Linked DNA regions of Homo sapiens: region 1 is linked to region 2. Evidence: promoter capture Hi-C in human tissues and cell types (Jung and others, 2019). All regions are on one chromosome and are shown on one strand. Each heading gives the region's core, a stretch centred on a gene start or on the middle of the fragment in contact. The rest is flanking DNA. Distances are from core to core; before and after follow the strand shown.

The links. The method cuts DNA at HindIII sites, captures the fragments that hold promoters and counts their contacts. A contact is called where the count stands out against the background at its distance.
Region 1: the fragment with the promoter of CSRNP2 here is called in contact with the fragment with the promoter of BCDIN3D in region 2 in 1 of the 25 tissues and cell types used here (IMR-90 fibroblasts).

What each region holds. Positions count from the first base shown.
Region 1 is chr12:51,081,887-51,085,044 of GRCh38, reverse strand. CSRNP2 (cysteine and serine rich nuclear protein 2) reads left to right here and starts at 1,449. Exons shown (of 5, transcript NM_030809.3): 1 at 1,449-1,706. RefSeq lists an enhancer at 398-1,024 and a silencer at 1,398-1,887. The HindIII fragment of the contact is 9,557 bases long and covers 1-3,158 here.
Region 2 is chr12:49,841,645-49,845,094 of GRCh38, reverse strand. BCDIN3D (BCDIN3 domain containing RNA methyltransferase) reads left to right here and starts at 1,989. Exons shown (of 2, transcript NM_181708.3): 1 at 1,989-2,241. The coding sequence starts at 2,008. RefSeq lists enhancers at 1,647-1,706, 2,277-2,646. The HindIII fragment of the contact is 12,873 bases long and covers 1-3,450 here.

The DNA.
Region 1 (3,158 bases), core at 200-2,699, 1.2 Mb before region 2:
TTCAAGCAGAGTATGGAAGGGGGAAAGTAGAAGCAAACAAGATGACAGAACAAAATGAGGGGGCGGGGTGGGGGTCGGGGGACAAGAGAATGCAGCTCGAGCTTGCCGAGCCTTATAGTTCAAGGGAAAGACAACAAAGAAGAAACCAAGGCTATGTGTCCTTGGCAAATCACATACAACTTTTGACTTCTTAATCTTGGTTTTCCCCTTTTTTTTCTTTTTCTTTTTCTTTTTTTTTTTGAGACGGAGTTTCGCTCTTGTTGACCGTGCTGGAGGGCAATGGTGCAGTCTTGGCTCACTGCAACCTCCGCCTCCCGGGTTCAAGCCATTCTCCTGGGTCGGCCTCCCGAGGAGCTGGGATTAAAGGCACGTGCTACCACCCTCGGCTAATTTTTGTATTTTTAGTAGAGACAGGGTTTCACCATGTTGGTCAGGCTGGTCTCGAACTCCTGACCTCATGACCCGCCCGCCTCGGCCTCCCAAAGTGCTGGGATTACAGGCATGAGCCACCGCGCCTGGCGCCCTTTCTTAAAAATAGGTTGCGGAAGGGCGCGGTGGCTCATGCGTATAATCCCAGCACTTTGGGAGGCCGAGGCGGGCGGATCGCCTGGGCCCAGGAGTGCAAGACCAGCCGGGGCAACATGGCGAAAACCCCTTTTCTATTTAAATAAATAAATTAGTTTGCAAAGTTGAGAAGATTTTTTTTTTTTTTTTTTTGAGACGGAGTCTCGCTCTTTCGCCCAGTCTGCAGTGCAGTGGCGCGATCTCGGCTCACTGCAAGCTCCGCCTCCCGGGTTCACGCCATTCTCCTGCCTCAGCCTCCCGAGTAGCTGGGACTACAGGCGCCCGCCACCACGCCCGGCTAATTTTTGTATTTTTTAGTAGAGACGGGGTTTCACCTTGTTAGCCAGGTTGGTCTCGATCTCCTGACCTCGTGATCCGCCCACCTCGGCCTCCCAAAGTGCTGGGATTACAGGCGTGAGCCACCGCGCCCGGCAGCAATTTTTTTTTTTTTAAAGAAAACACTCAAAGCACTCCCTCATATAAGTAGATAACTCAAGATATTGCTTGTATTCTTTATAACCTGCGCAGGCTGCAATAAGTCATATTGCTGAAGACTAAGACCCCATGAGCGAGGAGAAGGGGGGATCATGTTCCTAATGGCGTGTGGTCAGGACACGAAAGAAAAAGGGAGCTTTGGAGGAGAATTCGTTTATTTAAGATCTGTAGCTGAGTCTCCTCTCTTCCCCCATTAAAAGGTTGCAGCAGAGCTGCCGCCTCGGGAGCCGGTTTGCGCGCCGGCTTCGGCTTTGCAGCAGTTACCGCCTACAACTCCCGGCATGCTGCTGGGTGTGGGCCGGCCCGTAGACTCCATTTCCCAGCCAGCCCCGGGTCTCGGTCAGGACGTGCCGGCGCCTATAAGAGCCAGTGCGCTGCGGCCGGATCCTATTGTTAGCCGGAGCCGGGGCGGTTCTGGGCGTCTGCTGCCGGGGGCGCCCGAGTTGCCGGAGACGCCCGGCCCTCTCTGCCTGCCGGCTGGGCTGCCCACCGCCCTCCCTCCCCGCCCTGCCGCCCTGGGAGCTCCCCGGCCGTCGCCGCGGGGCCCGGGACTCGCTCGCTCCTCCCTCCTTCCCACCGGGCTAGGGCGGCGGCGGCAGCGGGGGCGGCAGAGACCATCACGGGAGGAGGCAGCTGCGGCGGGGCCGGTAATGGGCCTAGGGGTGCGGGGCGGAGGGTGCCGCCTCGTCCTTTCTCGGGATCGGCCCTCGGGCGGCCGTGGAGGAGTGGTCAAGCCCAGAGCCGTGCGGATGGAGGGGTCAGAAATGAGAGGCTCGGACGGGAGCGGTCGGGGGGCGGGGAGGTCGGGTGCCGTTGGGAAGGAACCGAGTCGGGAAGAGGCGTGGGAGCGAGGGGCACCGAGGACGCTGGCCCGGACTGCGGGGGCAGCTCGCGGGAGACCGATGGGCGGCTTGGAAGCCTGCAGGATTGCAGATGAGGATTGAGTTCGGAATGGAGTGGAGAATGATGTAGGATGGAGGAAAGTGAAGGAAGGGGAGGGGGAACAGAGGAAAATGTGGGAGGAGTGGTTGGGAATTTGTGAGTAGCAGGCAGGAAGGGATGCGGAAGGCTGGGTAGGGGCTGCAGAGGATTGGAATGAGCGGGAAGGTTAGCAGGAATCAGAGGGAAGTGGGCCGAGAGCTGAAGGGTTCGGCAGGAGTGTTCATTAAAAGGAACTGGTGACTTGACATGTCCCTTCGCTCCGGTTCCTGATGTCTCCCATATTTCTGGCGTCGTGTGGGAAAATGAAAGCATCAATTGCCCTGGTTGCTAGCTTGATCTTTTTTCATAGGCCCAATTACGCAGCCAACTGCCACCCGTCCCTTTTAGTGCTGTGGTCTTGATTCATCCTTTTAAAGGGGTTGAGAGTGGCAGTGTGACACACAAACTGTTCTTCAGAATGAAATGCTAGAAGTTATCCCCACAAGACAACACTGTCCCCTTGTCCTGCAGTTTTCAGTTCAAGGTAAATTCATAGTTCAGATTTTTTTCTTCACTGGCTTTCTGTCTTGCAAATCCACAAAGCCAGGATGTTGGTTGTGCCGGTGTTATAAATGACTGGATATCCTTGAGAGTTAATGCAGCATCATGTTCCAGTTCCCACAAAGATCTGTCTTCCACACGATGGTAGTTTAGGCATGGAAAATTCTAACCTTGTGTTAGTGAATGGGTAAAAATCGGGGAGTGGGGGTGGTGAGTGCACGGCTTTCTTTAAACACCTAACTTAAGCGGGGGGTTTTCACTTGGGTGCTTTGTAAGTTCATGATCCTGGTGATCACAAAGACACATGGATCCATGAAATTCATGGTATATGAGAAACAACCACAGTATCTTGTAAAAGGAGAAACAGGGCAGGTCATTTTATTCAGGTTTATGGTAACACAGCAGCAAGCCTTCCTTCCAACCCAGCTACAGATGGTAGCCCTGACCATCTTACTGGAGGTTTTGATTCCTTGACCTTTAGCAGAAGGTTGGGTTCCAGTCAAGTGAAGAGGCTTTCTCCTGTGAGATGTAGCTTATTACTTTGGACTCATTTAAGAAAGAGACTTATATTACCTAAACTTTGCAAATAGATTCTTCCAGAAAATTTTGCCTGGGCA
Region 2 (3,450 bases), core at 740-3,239:
ATAGGTTAGAAAAGTTACCAGAGTGGATCAAATTAAAACACCTCTTTATGAGGTCACCTGTCAGGCATTTTAGATTACCAGTAATGTTACGAGGGCCTATCTTTGCTTCTGGAGGAACCCCAGGGTCAGGAGTTCTTGCCATTCACTGTCCTGGAAGCAAGGTGATTCCAGCTCCTTGAAAATTGTTAATTATTTGTGCTAGCTTCATCTAGTGACAAAAAGAGGTAAGTTCAGCTCAGCTCACCAAAATTTGTCAAAACGGTGCAGCTTTTTCTCCTTTTCTGTAATTGTGCAGAATACTGTGGTTTACTAAATTCCAGAGTGACTTTTATTAACTTGTGTCCTCAAATAAGTGAAACTAGAGAAACAGCAGGCCAGATAGAGATGAAAATATAAAGGCTGGGCGTGGTGGCTCTCGCCTGTAATCCCAACACTTTGGGAGGCCGAGGTGGGCAGATCACGAGGTCAGGAGTTCGAGACCAGCCTGGCCAACATAGTGAAACCCCGTCTCTACTAAAAAATACAAAAACTTAGCCAGGAATGGTGGCGGGTGCCTGTAATTCCAGCTACTTGGGAGGCTGAGGCAGGAGAATCACTTGAACCTGGGAGGCAAAGGTTGCAGTGAGCCGAGATCATGTCATTGCACTCCAGCCCAGGCAATAGTGTGAGACTCTATCTCAAAAAAAGGAGAAAAGAAAAAGAAAATATAAAGTAAAAACTGAGAGGAAAACAGCGCTTATTTTAACTCCTGATGGTACTGTTTGCAGGAGTCATGCTCCAGTGCCTTATAAGAAGTTTACCGAACTGCCAGCCTCATGGAGCAGGATACCCCTTTAAGATGGGTGGGCCAGGTGCAGGGGTGGGGTTGGGGGTCCTGCACAACTCTGCTGATGCTTGGTTGACCCTGACGGATATTCTGGGCCATCCTGGCTTTTGACTGGAACCTGCTACCTAGGTTGACCCTTCAGTTCCTCTCCTTATCAGCTCTGTTATTTCCAATCTCTGAGTCACATCTTGCCCAACTCCATTCCACTATGTCTGCTTCAGTTGGCATCCTTTCTCCCTTCCATTTAAAGTTTCCCCAAACAGATCTGGCCTTATTGTATTCTCTATTGAGTTTTCATTCAACAACATTTGTTGAGCATCTTTGTGCCAGGCCCATGTTAAGTATAGGAGACTCAAGGCTGAGAATAACACACCGTTGCAAGCACATCCTCTGGATCCAAACTCCCTGGGTTCGAATCCTAGTACCATCATTTCTAACTGTGGGATCTTGGACAAGTTACTTTGTTTTACTCCAGTGTCCTCATCTATATAAAAAGAATAATAATACGGTCATTTTCTCACGGGGTGAGAGGATTGACTAAGGAGCTTACAAGGGTGTCTGGTGCCTGGTAAGCACTCTTTAAGTGCTGGCTCTTAAGGCACGGTCCTTGCCTCTCAAGGAGCTCATGGTCTACAGTTGCCCCTGGGGGACAGGGCTGAGTCGGCTGGCTTCGCAAGTGACCTGCACCTCCTGGCTACCCTTTCCTGAACCGGGTGGAAGTTTTTGAGTCACAGATTCAATGTATGACCCCAGACAAGTAAGTTCTCTCGGTCTCACTTTTTGCATTTATAAAGAAAGGAAATTGGACTAAAATTGATTTCCAAGATCCCAACAAACTAGTATACTTGTTCTGGGTCAAGTAGCCCAAGTTTCAAACTATGTCAGCTTGGCCAAGACACTTAGCCCTCAGAGTTTGTTTCATCCCTGTAAAACGTGGATGATATTGCTAATCCCCTCCCAGTGTTGTGATGAGGGTTCAATAATACAAGGCAAGCCCCAGGCGCTCGCCGGCTCCAGGTATACAGCGAGAGGAAATCAGGACAGCTTTTCTGATTCACCGCAGAATTCTAGCCACCCGCCCTAGCCGTTCGACGCACGCGCGCTGGCACCGCCACCGCCCACGCCGACAGCAGGTTCCCGGCTTCCGGTTCCGCCACGGCCCAGAGGCTGTGTTGAGGCTAATGGCGGTGCCCACGGAACTGGATGGAGGGAGTGTTAAGGAGACCGCAGCGGAAGAGGAATCGCGAGTTCTGGCACCTGGCGCCGCCCCGTTCGGAAATTTTCCTCATTATTCTCGCTTCCACCCTCCGGAGCAACGGCTCCGCCTCCTGCCCCCGGAGCTGCTTCGACAGCTCTTTCCTGAGAGTCCCGAGAACGGGCCGATTCTGGGGCTCGACGTGGGGTGTAACTCCGGGGTGAGTGACAGGGGAGGGATTGGAGCATCCGGAGCCAAGTGGTTGGCTGCCTACACATCCACTGTGGTTCTGGCCTGGGCTAACACCCATCGAAACTTTCCCAAAACGAGTATAAAGCGTGGCTTTGACTGAGCCAGTGCCGCTGCTGCCTGCCCGCCAGGGTTCCACCATCTGTCTTAGGAATCTCTCTTGGAGAGGAGTCCTTGTCGACTACGTTCCCACTTTTCTTTCAGGGCCAGACCCCAGGTGGGAACGGTCCTTGTATCTAGGGTGGCCTCTGTCCAGCGTGCCTGGCGCTTTGGCTGGGGAGAGGGGGCTTCCAGAGACACACGTTTGGGAACATGGGGTTAGGTTTGGTTTACTGGGAGAGAAGAGCCAAGGGTGACAGAATCATGCCTGATATTGAGACTCATGTGTGCTATACAGTGCAGGACAGACCCTGGGACCTGCATGTTTATTTCAAAAAAAGTGAGTAGGCCGGGCGCGCTGGCTCACGCCTGTAATCCCAGCACTTTCGGAGGCCGAGGCGGGTGGATCACAAGGTCACGAGATCGAGACCATCCTGGCTAACACGGTGAAACCCCGTCTCTACTAAAAATACAAAAAATTAGCCGGTCGTGGTGGCGGGCGCCTGTAGTCCAGCTACTCCGGAGGCTGAGGCAGGAGAATGGCGTGAACCCGGGAGGCGGAGCTTGCAGTGAGCCGAGCTAGTGCCACTGCACTCCAGCCTGGGCGACAGAGCGAGACTCCGTCTCAAAAACAAAACAAAACAGTGAGTTGACAGAGTACAGTGGAGAGGATCGAGAAGCAAATAAAGCATTTTGCCCAAGGGAATGGAGAAGGGCGGCACTGCCACTCTTCTTGCTGCAAACTATTCTTAGGCATATGATTATAATCAAACCACATGCAAAATAAGGAAATGTCTCTCCCACACCTATTTGTAGCCACTGGGATATTCTACACTAGCAGGCAGTCTGAACTTACCACGGCAAATGCTTCAAAAGTTAGTACCCTCTCTGCGCTCCCTCCATCACTCCAGTCCAGCATCTGGAGGGCGGGGGACAATTCTGTTACGTTGCTGTCCTTTTACAGAAGAGACTTTGGGGGACGACTTCAGACCTTGTGGGACTCAGATGATAGTAGGAAGGGGACATTTGGATACAGTCTCAAAGACTGGAATGAGGAGATGGGTTGATGTCCTGTGTCCCC